Regions from separate parts of the Homo sapiens genome. Here all the other regions are linked to region 3. The links are contacts of gene promoters, found by promoter capture Hi-C in blood cells and fetal thymus (Javierre and others, 2016). All regions are on one chromosome and are shown on one strand. The core of a region is centred on a gene start or on the middle of the fragment in contact, and the rest is flanking DNA. Distances in the headings are between cores, read along the strand shown.

Evidence for each region. Contacts are between HindIII fragments. The CHiCAGO score rates a contact against its expected background, and 5 or more counts as called.
Region 1: a contact is called between a fragment that was not itself captured here and the fragment with the promoter of WWC3 in region 3, in 1 of 17 cell types (non-activated CD4 T cells). The highest score is 5.3, in non-activated CD4 T cells.
Region 2: a fragment that was not itself captured here is called in contact with the fragment with the promoter of WWC3 in region 3 in 1 of 17 cell types (non-activated CD4 T cells); the score reaches 6.0 in non-activated CD4 T cells.
Region 4: a contact is called between a fragment that was not itself captured here and the fragment with the promoter of WWC3 in region 3, in 4 of 17 cell types (total B cells, naive CD8 T cells, naive B cells and 1 more). The highest score is 6.6, in total B cells.

The regions. Positions count from the first base shown.
Region 1 is chrX:11,122,538-11,126,036 of GRCh38, forward strand. HCCS (holocytochrome c synthase) reads left to right here. Exons shown (of 7, transcript NM_005333.5): 7 at 1-549. Among named protein-coding and RNA genes, the nearest start is that of HCCS, 13 kb to the left of the region's middle. The HindIII fragment of the contact is 685 bases long and covers 1,666-2,350 here.
Region 2 is chrX:11,099,785-11,102,990 of GRCh38, forward strand. The region is part of intron 2 of HCCS-DT (HCCS divergent transcript); the gene reads right to left. Among named protein-coding and RNA genes, the nearest start is that of HCCS-DT, 9.8 kb to the right of the region's middle. The HindIII fragment of the contact is 227 bases long and covers 1,661-1,887 here.
Region 3 is chrX:10,013,720-10,017,299 of GRCh38, forward strand. It overlaps WWC3 (WWC family member 3), which reads left to right and starts at 1,535. Exons shown (of 24, transcript NM_015691.5): 1 at 1,535-1,954; 2 at 1,957-2,139. The coding sequence starts at 1,860. RefSeq lists enhancers at 1-533, 534-1,417 and silencers at 1,238-1,407, 1,448-1,507. The HindIII fragment of the contact is 8,733 bases long and covers 1-3,580 here.
Region 4 is chrX:8,746,077-8,749,601 of GRCh38, forward strand. No RefSeq gene overlaps it. Among named protein-coding and RNA genes, the nearest start is that of ANOS1, 16 kb to the left of the region's middle. The HindIII fragment of the contact is 4,113 bases long and covers 1-3,525 here.

The sequences.
Region 1 (3,499 bases), core at 758-3,257, 1.1 Mb after region 3:
GCATTTGACAAGTTATCCCAACTTCGAATCTCATTTCTTCCTTTGCTGGCAGCCTCCACCCTTCCCCACATCAGTCGGCCTAATCCAAACCTTGAAAGCCTGGCTTAAGTCCCAGTATCAGTGATGGTCCCCCTCTAAAACATGATTTTATATTTGGCTGAGTGTTAAAATTCACAAGATGAGCATTTTTTTCCCAGATGGAGAACGCTTCAACTCAGTCTAGATTTTTTTTGTTTGTTTTAAGGAAGCTCTAAGTTTGCCATTGAAACTTTTTGTACCAGTAATCCATAAACTGGTTGTTCTATTTATAGCAGCATGTTACAAATGACTGCTTTTTTTTTTTAACTGTCTATACTATTAAATCCTTTAATTTATCCTGAATGCTGTAGTGTTAAATTAGTGGATGAAATTGGCAGTCTGTGGGTGATTAATTTGGTATGGATTTGTCAGTTTTGTGTGGAGTTTAAGAAATAGAACAGCCTTAAACTCTACATTTCAAAATACTTGTATATTTTAAAATAAAGCTGATTAGTTCACAGGTTTTGAAAATTTTTTGGAATAATTTTACACTTAACGATTGTTTCTTCAGACGTATTATCTTTATAAAACCAATGCTTTATGATAGAATGATTTATAACCCAGCACACATATGTTTATTGCAGCACTGTTCACAATAGCAAAGACTTGGAACCAACCCAAATGCCCATCAATGATAGACTAGATAAAGAAAATGTGGCACATATATACTACAGAATACTATGCAGCCACAAAAAAGGATGAGTTCATGTCCTTTGCAGGGACATGGATGAAGCTGGAAACTATAATTCTCAGCAAACTATCACAAGAACAGAAAACCAAACACCGCATGTTCTCAAGAGTGGGGGTTGAACAATGAGAATACATGGACACAGGGAAGGGAACATCACTGGGGCCCGTCTCGGGGCCGGGGGGGGGTGGGGGGGGTTGGGGGGGGTGGGGAGGAGGCTAGTGGAGGGATAGCATTAGGAGAAATACCTAATATAGATGACGGGTTGATGGCTGCAGCAAACCAGCATGGCATGTGTATACCTATGTAACAAAAGTGCACGTTCTGCATATGTACCCCAGAACTTAAAGTATAATAATTTTTTTTTAAAAAAAACAATGCTATAGTCTCCCTACTCCAAGCAGCCACTTTTTCATCTACTAATCTTTTTTTTTTTTTTGAAATGGGAGTCACGCTCTGTCACCCAGACTGAAGTTCAGTGGCACAATCTCAGCTCACTGCAACCTCCACCTCCCGAGTTCAAGCGATTCTCCTGCCTCAGCCTCCCGAGTAGCTGGGATTACAGGTGCATGCCACCACGCCTGGCTAATTTTTGTATTTTTAGTAGAGACGGGGCTTCACCATGTTGGTCAGGCTGGTCTTGAACGCCTGACCTCATGATCCACCCGCCTTGACCTCCCAAAGTGCTGGGATTACAGGCGTGAGCCACCGCACCCAGCCCTAATCACATATTTTTAAACTGTAGAGGAAAATAATTACTGTTGGCATTTTTTGGGGGGGTCTTAAGTGCTATCGAATGAGTGTGGGATAAGACATTCTTATGAAAGACAAAACACTAACTGGAAACAAAAAATATGCCAAAGGCAGGATTCACCTGTTTTATAGGACTGTGGTAAACAAGCTTTAAACTCAAGCAAACTTGATGACAAGATCAAGTTTTATACATCGTTTTACTACTTCCAGAAAAAACCATGGCTTCCTGGATTGTCAGAGCTGCTTTGTGTCTAGATTATGCTTGATTGGGTCCAGGGGTCAATACTGATAGGAGTTTTCGTGTACAGCTTGAAACTCATTTAGGATATTCTCTGGAGTTTTAAACTAAGTCTTGTGTCTGTGGAAATAGCACTATTCAGAATCAGAACAAATTACTGAACATCAGGCTAAGTATTGGCAGACAAGCTGGGGCTACAAATGGATTGCATATTAACATTTAGTATTCCTGTCAGTCACTGGCTAACAAAATGTTTATGTCCCCTTTGTGCATCGTATAAGGAATACAAAATTGCAAAAGGTATAACCCTGATATGGTTTGGCTGTGGCCCCACCCAAATCTCACCTTGAATTTTAATAATCCCCACGTGTCAAGGGCAGGGCAAGGTGGAGATAATTAAATCATGGGGGCAGTTTCCCCTATACTGTTCTCCTGGTAGTGAATAAGTCTCAGGAGATCTGATGGTTCTTTAAATGGGAGTTCCCCGCACAACTTCTTTTGCCTGCTGCCACGTAAGACATCCCTTTGCTCTTCCTTCGCCTTTCACCATGATTGTGAGGCCTCCCCAGCCATGTGGAACTGTGAGTCCATTAAGCTTCTTTCCTTTATAAATTACCCAGTCTTGGGCATGTCCTTATTAGCAGCATGGGAACAGACTAATACCCCTACTTGCAGGGAACTCAACAATCTTATGGACAGTCTATAAATGAAATGGTGGTAAATGCTAGAACTCCAATTTAAGGAACACATTGTGGTAACACACAGTGTGAGAATTCACGTAAGTATTTTTGAATATTTAGAGATAGTTACCAATTTCTTTACTGAGTCATCATTATGGTTTATCTTCTCCCAGAGATTGCTTCTTAGGGAAAATGAAGCAATGCACATTTCCTGTCTCACCTTTGCAGTGACTGTCAGAATTGTATGACCCGTCATTTGTGTCACCATAGGCTTGAGGCTGTGTGTGTGATGATTACAAATGTGTGTCCTGGAGGCAGAGTCCTTGCCCTGCCCTTTAGTCGCTGTGTGATCTTAATGTCTCTGGGCCTCAGCTTTCTCGGCTATGAAATGAGAGTAATAGAACCAACTTATCAGAGTTGTTTTGCAGGTACTTTGAGGTGATGCCTAAAAGCGCTGGGAACAGAGTCTGTGGGTGGAAATGTTCAGCAAATATTAGCTATCACCATTGATCAACAACAGCAAGGAGAGAAATCAAAGTGCTGAGATATAATCTACTTCTCTCATCCTCTGGCCTTATTCCCCGCCCCACTCCGCCACCAGGAGAATCAGTTTAGAGGGGTAACAGCAGGCTCTAATCCCCATTTTGATCAATTTTAAGGATTACCAGGTGTTTGGGTGCTTGCTCTAAGAAAGCTCATGTTATTTAAAATCATCAAATGGAAAAAGAACAGGTTACAGCCTTTGATCTTTCAAAAAATATCAGGGTAACAAATTAGGTACTTGATATGCAAGTCCCACTTGACAAAAAGAAATATTATATTAAGACAGATACCCAAGCTGGAGTGCACTGGCATGATCTCGGCTCAATGCAACCTCTACCTCCTGGGTTCAAGTGATTCTTGTGCCTCAGCCTCCTGAGAAGCTGGGATTACAGGTGCCTACCACCACACTCAGCGAATTTTTTTGTATTTTTAGTAGAGATGGGGTTTCACCATGTTGGTCAGGCTGGTCTTGAACTTCTGACCTCAAGTGATCCACCCACCTCGGCCTCCCAAAGTGCT
Region 2 (3,206 bases), core at 524-3,023, 1.1 Mb after region 3:
TAGACTTGCTTTTTAAGTTCCATATCTCTTTGTCCCCTTTGGCCCTTCCTGGAGTGGAAGCAGGACAAATTCTTGTGCTGATGACACTTTTTTTTTTGAGATGGAGTCTCGCTCTGTCACCCAGGCTGGAGTACAGAGGTGCTATCTCAGCTCACTGCAACCTCCACCTCCTGGGTTCAAGCGAGTCTCCTACCTCAGCCTCCCGAGTAGCTGGGATTACAGGTGCATGCCACCACGCCTGGCTAATTTTTTTTTTTTTTTTTTTAGTAGAGATGGGATTTCACCATTTTGCCCAGGCTGATCTTGAACTCCTGACCTCAGGTGATCTGCCCACCTCAGCCTCCCAAAGTGCTGGGATTGCGGGCATGAGCCACCACACCCGGCTGCTGATGACACTTTATTGGCAATCTTGGGAAGGGAAAAAAGACCAAGTAGAAGTAGCAACGGGACCCCTAACATTGATATTGCCTGATGACTGGGCTGGCCAAAGTCTGGTGCCAGGACCCCTATCCTACCAGTGGTTCCAGACACCACCGAGGGAATCTGGAAGGAGAAATAAAGCCCACAACACGCCACCAAGTGGCTGCAATATTACTCTTGCAGTGAAGATACTTTTTTTTTCCTCCTTTGTTTCCATAGGGTACTTTTCTAAACCTGTCCAAAGTCCCTCTCACTAGATTCCTTAACTGTCACTTAAAGTGTTATCTATGACTCAGAATTTCCTAACATAAATTCTATAACCTCCCTCCTTTCCTCAGGAAAGTTACCAACTGAGGCCTACTCACACCAAAACTCTGATCCTAGTGGCTGTGAGATGTCTGAATGCTGTTTAAACTGTGCACTTACATGTGTTTGCAGGTAGTGATAAATAAGAACTCTTCTTTGTTGTCGTGCTTATTCACAGTTTAACTTGGCTTCCTCTGCTTCAGACAGAAGGGAACTGAAGTAAATTCTTAAGACACACAAGGAAAGAAAGTTCTTTGCGCTGAAGGCGGTTCGCCAAGGTGCTAATTCCATCTTTGGTAGGTTTCTCCCAGGACTGTGTTCCTCATCCAGGAATTTCCCTGAGCTTGATGGGTCACACGTCCAAATTCCAGCTTTGAATAAATAAACCAACTAAAGTGCTCAGTTGCCTCAGGGATTAGCAGAGCAGTTCACGAACTTCCATCGCCCCCCAGTGGCAATTAGTTGGATCTTTTTGTTAGGGATTTTCTTATGCTTAAAATTTAGGTTATCGTTCTCCCCTCCAAAGTTGTTTTAAGTTTTTGTTTGTTTGTTTGTTTAATTCTCACACTGAAGATTATAAAGTCTTTGTGTGGAGGTATGTTGGTAATGTCAAATTAATGGCTTCTGGGTCACCAGGTCATAGACGGATAAGATGTAGTATCTGCTTTCATGGTTCTAAGTAAAAGACTGATTTTCAACCTGGTCTCTATTCTGAGGCTCCATCCTGAGAGAAGGTGAAAATAAGCAGCACTAAATCACTAAATCCAGAAAGGACTCTCAGTGGGTGGCATCAAGGTAACCTAGAGAGCCAGTTAGCCTTGGTTGCATATAGATGAGAACTCAGCCACCCACAGTGATAGTATCTACTCTGAAAACAAGATATAGGCTATGTGAGATTCCAAAAATAAAAAGCAGAAACTGTGTTGAGGGAGAAAGCTTATATACATATGAAGTAGCCAAGAAACACTTTTCTAGCATAATAAATTCATAAATTCATGCAACATACAGTCAATGATTTTTGATAGCTAGCATAAAGTACTTCACCTTGTTTTATAGAAAAAGAAGAAGTGGAATTTAGGAAAGTTTAGACTGAAGAGGCTTATCTTCAACTCAAAAAAGGGAAGGTTCTTGCCTCCCTGCCCACAGTGGAGTTAGTACTTAAGCTTATTTTTCAGATCATAGTAAATTCCTTTGGTTCACCACCTGCCATGCTCCACCCCCACACCCCTTTTAAATTTAAAACCAGGTTTGTAGTCCTTTAAATAATACTGACCCAGTTCTAAATTCCTACACACCAAACAGTCCTGCCAATGCTAAATCCTGAGTAGAAGTGTTTGTCCTTCAGCTTCCTTTACTCAGAATTTGTCTCCTTTCCAGCCAGAACATTCTCCTTCCCTGGCCACCCCTCTCCCCTTGGCTTTGGAAGGCAAACTTTACCTAATCTGTTTTGTTTAAGAATCCTAAATCTTAGTGGTTTAAGGGCCTCAGTATTAGTACACACAAGCACACATATATAAATTTAAGAACAAAGAATGTTTTATTATCAGCTCATTGTATTTTGTATAATATTTGTTTAATAAATTCACCCTTAAAGTATAAGCCTCTGTCAGTTAGGCCTGGCCTCCCCATCTCCTGGACCCCAAGGTCTTATTCACTTGAATCTCCCAGTCCATGGTCCATGGAATATCAAGTTTCCCTGAGTTATATGTTACTCCTCAGGGACTTAGGCTCCTATGGTCACTTCTGCCTCTGGACTCCTCTCTCTGCTTGTGCTGGCTCAGTTTACATTGACCTAGAGGGGAAACTCTGCCCCTTTATCATCTTCTATGAAAACCCATTCACTAAATTACTTGCTGATTTTGTAAAACACTCATAACAAAATAGAGATATATGGATACTTCTTAAACATGACAAAAAACTTTATGCCAATCTAAAAGTTCGCAAAATGCTTAATGGATAGACACTAGACACTTTTCCACAAAAATTAGGAATGTCTACTGCCACTTTTATTTAACGTTTTGCTGGAAAGTCTTAGCCTATGCAGGAGAAAGAAATTAGAGGCATGAGGCCAGGCGCAGGGGCTCACGCCTGTAATCCCAGCACTTTGAGAGGCCGAGGTGGGCGGATCGCCTGAGGTCAGGAGTTTGAGACCAGCCTGGCCAACATGGTGAAACCCCATCTCTACTGAAAAAAAAAAAAAAAATACAAAAATTAGCCGGGCATGGTGGCAGGTGCCTGTAATCCTACCTACTTGGGAGGCTGAGGTAGGAGGATCACTTGAACTTGGGAGGTGGAGGTTGCAGCGAGCCGAGATCATGCCATTGCACTCCAGCCTGGGCAACAAGAGCGAGACTTCGTCTCAAAAAAAAAAAAAAAAAAACAAAAGAAATTAGAGGCATTAAAGTTGGACGGGAGGAAGTAAAATCATTATTAGTTGAGATTATATGAAATAATCCCTGGAAAATCCAAAATAAACACAC
Region 3 (3,580 bases), core at 285-2,784:
GCTCACTGCAACCTCCCAGGTTCAAGCAGTTCTCCTGCCTCAGCCTCCCGAGTAGCTGGGATTACAGGCGTGCGCCACCATGCCCGGCTAATTTTTGTATTTTTAGTAGAGACGGGGATTTCACCATGCTGGCCAGGCTCGTCTCGAACTCCTGACCTCGTGATCCGCCCGCCTGGGCCTCCCAAAGTGCTAGGATTACAAGCGTGAGCCACCGCGCCCGGCCCATTCTTCTTTTTTAAAACAACCTTTCCCCTCATAAAAGTAATATTACCATTTTACAAAAAATTGGAAGGCAAATCATTTTTAAAAATCCCGCCAAAGGAATGCAAACTCTTGTGAGCATTTCAGGACATTTTCCTCCAGTCTCTTCCCCTGTGTATCTGGATTTCAATCAGGCTCTACCAGATATTTTTGTATCACTGTAACTGTTTAAAAATCTCCCTGATACTGTCCTGCATTTCCTGGCATAACGTGTTGCGGCTGTGGGTCTGGGGCACGAAGTAGGTGGGAGATTTAGAGCAAGACACAGCCCCAACTCTGGAGCTTCAGCTTCCCCAGCTGGGAGCCAGTGAAACAGAAGTTCCCGTCTAGGCTGAAAGTTTTAGGAGTTGACCCGGCTTCCTCCCCAGCAATGGTCTACTTGGGTCTCCGCTCAAACGATCAGACCCCACAAACCGGATGAAGCGCTCAGGGAAGGTCAAGGAACTCCCGCCTAGTGTGGGCCCCCAGGTTAGCCCTTCTAGGGCTGTCCTGGCGGGGACGCAAAGTGGCCACCTGCCCAGCTGCCCGCTTCCAGAGGCGTCCTCCCTGCGCCGCCCGAGAGGACCGGCCGCGGGCTCCCCCAGCTCCTCAGCTCCCTCGGCCCCGCCTTCAGGGGCTTTTCCCACCTTCGCGGGACCAGACGGGTTGTGTGGGAGACCGAGGGCGCAGCCTCCCGCCAAGTGCGCAGAGGGTCTCCAGACAGCCAGAGCCCGGGAGCGGGTGAAGGGAGGGCACTGCCCGCTCTCTCGGGAATTGTTTGCGCCCGAGGAGTCACCCCAGGCAGGCCGCGCCCGCAGTCCGGGTAGGGCGTCGTCCTCCCCGCCCGCCTTCCTCTACGCGGGGGCCCGGGGGCGGACTGACGCGGCGGCGCCCATCCTGGCCTCCATGCGGTTTCCCGAGGCCGGAGGAAGGTGGCGGAGCGGGAGGGAGAGAGCGAGGAGCGCGCGGAGAGGGAGGACGGCGGAGGGGGAGGAGCAAGCGGAGGGGTGGGGGTGGGGTCGAGGAGCCGAGCGCCGAGGAGGACCCCGAGGGAGACTGGGGGCGGAGCAGCCGGCGACGGAGAGGCGCGGAGGACGCGGGGCCGGGGGAGGCGGAGCAGCGGGAGTGGGTGGAAAAGCAGAGGCGGCGGGAGGAGCGGGAGCCTCCGTGGGAGATTCGGGAGGAGCAGCCGGCGTGGGTGGAGCCGCCGGCGTGGGAGGAGCCGCGGGGCCTGGGTGAGAACGGGGCGGGACGGCCGGAGGCGGGGCCTGCGAACGCCCTGCCCCTGCTCGCCCGGGCCGCGCCGAGGAACGAAGATGGCCGGGCGCGCCGCGGGAACGGAGGGGCGGCCGGCAGCGGCGGCGGCGGCGGCGGCGGCTCCCGGGCTGTGACTTCGCGCGCGGCGGCCACCCGGGCTACCTGAACGGAGTGGGCGGCGCGGGCAGCGGCTTGCTAGGGCGGGCGGGCGGACGCCGGTGCACGGGCGCCGGGCGGAGGATGCGCCAGGAGCGGCGGGCGGCTCCCCGCGGCCGCCCCCGCGCCCCGGGCGCCGGGCCTTAGTGCTGGCGGAGGAGGCGGCGCGCGCGGGGCGGCCGGGCGGCGGCGGGGCCCGCGCCGTCATGCCTTGGCTGAGCGGCGGCCGGCGGCGACGGCGGGGACAGCCGCGCGAGGCCCCGCGGGAGCCGCCGCCTTCTGCGCAGCCCCAGCGGGAACCGCGCCGCCGGCGCCCCCCGCCGCGGTCCCCACGCCCCCAGCTCCTTCCGCGCCGCCGCCGCGGGCCCGGGAGAGCGCCGAGCTGCCGCTGCCCGCCGGCTGGGAGGAGGCGCGAGACTACGACGGTCGCGTCTTTTACATTGACCACAACACGCGCCAGACGTCGTGGATCGACCCCCGCGACCGGTAAGCGGGCCGGCTGGGGGCGCCAGACCCGGCGCGGGCGCTACGACCCGGGCCGCCGGCCGGCGCCACCGCGGATGCGCTGGGGACACGCCCCGCCCAGCGCGGGGCCGCCGCCGAGAGCCCCCGGGCCCGGGCAGAGCTCGGAGCGCCTCCATCCCCGGAACCAGGGGACTCCCTGGAGTGCTCCGGTCCAGGCTACGATCGAGGCGCCCCCATCCCTTGGGCCCAGGGAGAGGATCGGAGACACCAGGAGGCCCTCGGGGCTGGGTGAAGATCTTTGGTTCCGGGGGTCCGGGAGAGGATCCACCCTCCCAATACCCCGACTCCCAGGGCTCTGACCAAGAATGGAGGTGCCCCTTCTCCAGGCCTCGAGCCCTCTGAGCGCCGAGGCCGGCCGCCTACAGGTCCCCCGCCGCTGGGCGGACCCTCTCATTCGGTTCCCTCACGTCACCCGCTGTCCGGCGCCTGGGAACTGGGCTCCTGGAATTTCCTCTCCTGGGGCTGACAGATGGCCCTCTTTTCCTTTCTCTGCGGCAGCCTCGCCCATCCCGGTCCCGGGCGTCTGCGGCCCACTGCCCCGGCCCTGGTTCTGCAGGTGTCCCCAGCCCCGCGGTGGCGAGATGAGCTGTCACCTTGGATCACAAACGTGCGCCCCAGCTTTGGGGTGCGGGTTCCCTGTCTGGCGGGTTCAGGCTGGTTTCCATCCAAAACCTGATGTCAGACGGGCCCTTGAGGGATTCCCAACCCTTTTGGAGTTGGAGAAGTCTGTTCCCAAACTCTAGTTGCTCTTTAGCGCCTTAAAACTCGTGAGTTAAAACTGTTTGAAATAGCCTTCTGTACTGCAGCCAGAATGCAATATGATTAGTCCCATATGCTTTTGGAATAAACGAAAAACAAGAATTGTATTTTAAGTTTCCTTTTTGTGAAAGATATGCATGGGGTACAAAGCTGTCTTATTCACGTATAAAAACCCAATCAAGTAAAAACTGATTCTTGTAAAAGCACTATCAGATTTCATTTAATTAATTCCATGTAACGAAGCTCTTCCTTAACTTTTTGCTCGATTGTCTACGGGTTTCGATTGTTCAACTGCTTTTACAGAGATGTATTTTGTGTGGAATTGGGATTTCTGTGGACATCAAGTGTTTCCACAGGTTATCTGATGTCTTGTCCTCTCTAGAGCAACTCTCCTTCCAGGGCCTGAGTGCCAAAAAGGAAACACCACAGGCTTCCCAGTGATTTGAAGACTTGCAAAGGCCCAGTGTGGTGACATTGTGCCTGCTTCCTCCTACCTGCACAGGGAAGGCGGCCTGCATGGCACTGGCGTCTGAAAATAAACTTTTGAGGAGAGAAGCTGCTGAATTGTTTGAAGATTTCTCTGAGTTCAAGCAGGGGAAAACAAAAGAAAGCAAAACAAAAAGATCGTGATTCCCTAACATTC
Region 4 (3,525 bases), core at 352-2,851, 1.3 Mb before region 3:
GTGGGATTTTGGTGCACCCATCACCTGAGCAGTGTACACTGCACCATATTTGTAGTTTTTTTGTCTCTCGTCCCCCTCCCGCTCTTCTCCCCAAGTCTCCAATCTTTGGCATGGGTGCGATGAACAGGGAACACTTCTACACTGCTGGTGGGAATGTAAACTAATACAGTCGCTATGGAAAACAGTGTGGAGATTCCTTAAAAAACTAAAAGTAGAACTACCATTTGATCCAGCAATCCTGCTACTGGATATCTACCCAGAGGAAAAGAAGTCATTATTCGAAAAAGATGTTTGCACACACATGTTTATAGCAGCACCATTCACAATTGCAAAATTGTGGAACCAACCCAAATCAATCAACAAGTAGATAAAGAAACTGTGATATATATATGATGGAATACTATGCAGCCATAAAAAGCAATGAATTAACAGCATTTGCAGTGCCCTGGATGAGATTGGAGACTATTATTCTAAGTGAAGTAACTCAGGAATGGAAAACCAAACATTGTGTGTTCTCACTGATATGTGGGAGCTAAGCTATGAGGACGCAAAGGCATAAGAATGAGGCTGGCCTTCTGTGGAGCTCACTGTGCCTGTCTGCAGGGAGGGAATGCCTTTCTTTATAGTTTTTCACTCTCCTGGGAGACACGGATTTCAGGATCAGCATTATATGCATAATGTTCAAAATAAAATGGGCCAAATGAGATCACATAGGAGTAAGTGTGGGTATAAAACAGCTATAAGGAGATTTCAGAGGATTTTAAAAGGCACCACAAGCTAGAAAAATAGTTACTACAATAATATGTCTTTCCTTATATCTACAGGTTGGTGAGCTCTGGAATGTGCAGACGGGTAATTTGGGCAAATTTTAAGTAATGCAATATTGGGAAGTAATATGTGGGAAATCTCTCTGTGTCAGTCATTTGAGGTTTTCTGCTACTTTTATTGAATTGTATTCTTTTATCTCTGTTAAGACTCATTTACTTTCCAATTACTTGGGTGAGTTTCAGGAGAGACTCCTGTTAAATGTGCTTTTTAAATGCTATTGGGAGACTATTCAGTAATATGATAAGTCAACTTCTGTTTATTTCTAACTTCGTAACTAATTCCGGGAAAGTTCTGAGCACATGGTGGGGAGAGACGGAGAGAGACGGAGAGAGACAGAGAGAGAGAGAAAGAGAGAAAGAGACGGGGGTGGAGAGAGAGAGAGAGATAATACTTGCACCACTGTAATTAAAGTGAAGGGAAGTGAATAAGAATCCAAGTAAAAAAGCAGACTGTTTAAGTTCAAACCACAGCTAATTATTCTTCTTTTTTTTTTATTATACTTTAAGTTTTAGGGTACATGTGCACATTGTGCAGGTTAGTTACATATGTATACATGTGCCATGCTGGTGAGCTGCACCCACTAACTCGTCATCTAGCATTAGGTATATCTCCCAATGCTATCCCTCCCCCCTCCCCCCACCGCTAATTATTCTAAAAGCGATTTTAAAATTCTCAATCCACAGGCATTTTTATGTGCTGAGTTTTATTGTTGTTGTTGTTGTTGTTCTTTGTTTGTTTGTTTTTTGAGATGCAGTCTCGCTCTGTCATCCAGGCTGGAGCGCAGTGGCGTGATCTCAGCTCACTGCAGCCTCCGCCTCCTGGGTTCAAGCGATTCTCCTGCCTCAGCCTCCTGAGCAGCTGAGATTACAGGCAGGTGCTACCACATCTGGCTGATTTTTGTATTTTTTGGTAGAGATGGGATTTTTCCATGTTGGCTAGGCTGGTCTTGAACTCCCAGCCTCAAGTGATTCGCCTGCCTCAGCCTCCTAAAGTGCTGAGATTACAAGCACCTTGCTCGGCAAGTGCTGGTTTCTAATTACAGATAAATTATAATGGCTTTGATTTAGACTTGCAATCTCACACACTAACAGCATGAAATACTACATAAGGTGAACTATTATTATTATTATTATTATTAGCTTGCCTCTCTGATGAGTCACTGAAATATTCACTATAAAGAAATGGACTTAGAACTTGAAGGTTGCCACAAAGTTGTCAAAACAAAGAAGGAAATACTTTTATTATATTCCAAAACTTTCTTTTCTGTTTTTTAATGTGGATTTTTCTTTAAGTGAAAGAAAATCTTCTTTTATAAAATATAAACAAGTACATAGGAACTTATGGAGTAATGACAGCTGTTAAATTCTGGTTTAAGTTGGAGAATTGTGTCATTTTATTTGTGGATACTTTTAGTGTGGATAAGATAAATCAACTGTGGGTGGTTTTGAGTTCCTGCATTATTTTATTTATTTATTTATTTTGAGACGAAGTCTTGCTCTGTTGCCCAGGCTGGAGTGCAGTGGTGCGATCTCGGCTCACTGCAAGCTCCGTCTCCCGGGTTCACGCCATTCTCCTGCCTCAGCCTCCCGAGTAGCTGGGACTATAGGTGCCCGCCACACTAATTAGCCCGCCGGGCTAATTTTTTGTATTTTTAGTAGAGACGGGGTTTCACTGTGTTAGCCAGGATGGTCTCGATCTCCTGACCTCGTGATCTGCCCACCTCGGCCTCCCAAAGTGCTAGGATTTCAGGCGCGAGCCACCGCGCCCGGCCTACATTATATCATTTAAATGGGTGCTGCTCAATGCTAAAAACTATTAGGAATTTTAAAATGCAGAGGCCTAGGCCCTACTGCGAGACATCCACATTTAATTGGTCTGGGGTGGCTTTGGTGTCAGTATTGTTTAAAGCACCTTGGTGATTTGAATGCCTCCAGGTTAGAGAATCAACAAGAAGAATACTTTTCCCTAAATTCAAATAGTAGATTTCAGAAAAGTCCTGGTAATTGGATTAAAATAATGGGAAACTCATGGTTTCTCAACATCAACCCCATTGACGTTTTAGACAGGATCCCTCTTCGTCTTGGAGACTGTCTTCTGTGTGGGATTTTTAGCAACAACCCTGGCCTTTCACCACTAGATGGTAGTAGAACCTCTTACCACTTACAACACCAACTGTGTCTCCGACATTGCCAAAGGGACCCCGGTGGGGCAAAATCGCCCCGCTCCCCAATTGAGAAGCACTGACATAACCAATCCCATGTTTTTCAAATCATCCATTAGTTCTAGGAAAACCAACCAAATAAATAAACACATCCTTCAACTAAAACAGCATTATATAACAACACACACACAGAGACACACACACAGACACGAACACGTAACACACACGTATGCACACAGATACACACACACAACACAGGACACAATATTTTAAAAAAGATGTTAAACAACCCACAGCACAGAATGTTTCATTCAAAACATTTTGGGTGATGTTTCGAAGGAAAAATTAACCAATGTGGATGTTTTCCATTTCTTCTACTGTTCCACTACTCCATGCCCCACCCAAACCCTGCCTTCTTGCAGTTCCTATTCAAATAGTCTCAATGGAACTTCTTATAGAGATGAAAACCTTTCTATCTTCCTTTCTCTAACTAGAGAAAGGCTGGAAATAGCACCTGCAAGAGCTCCCTCCCAATA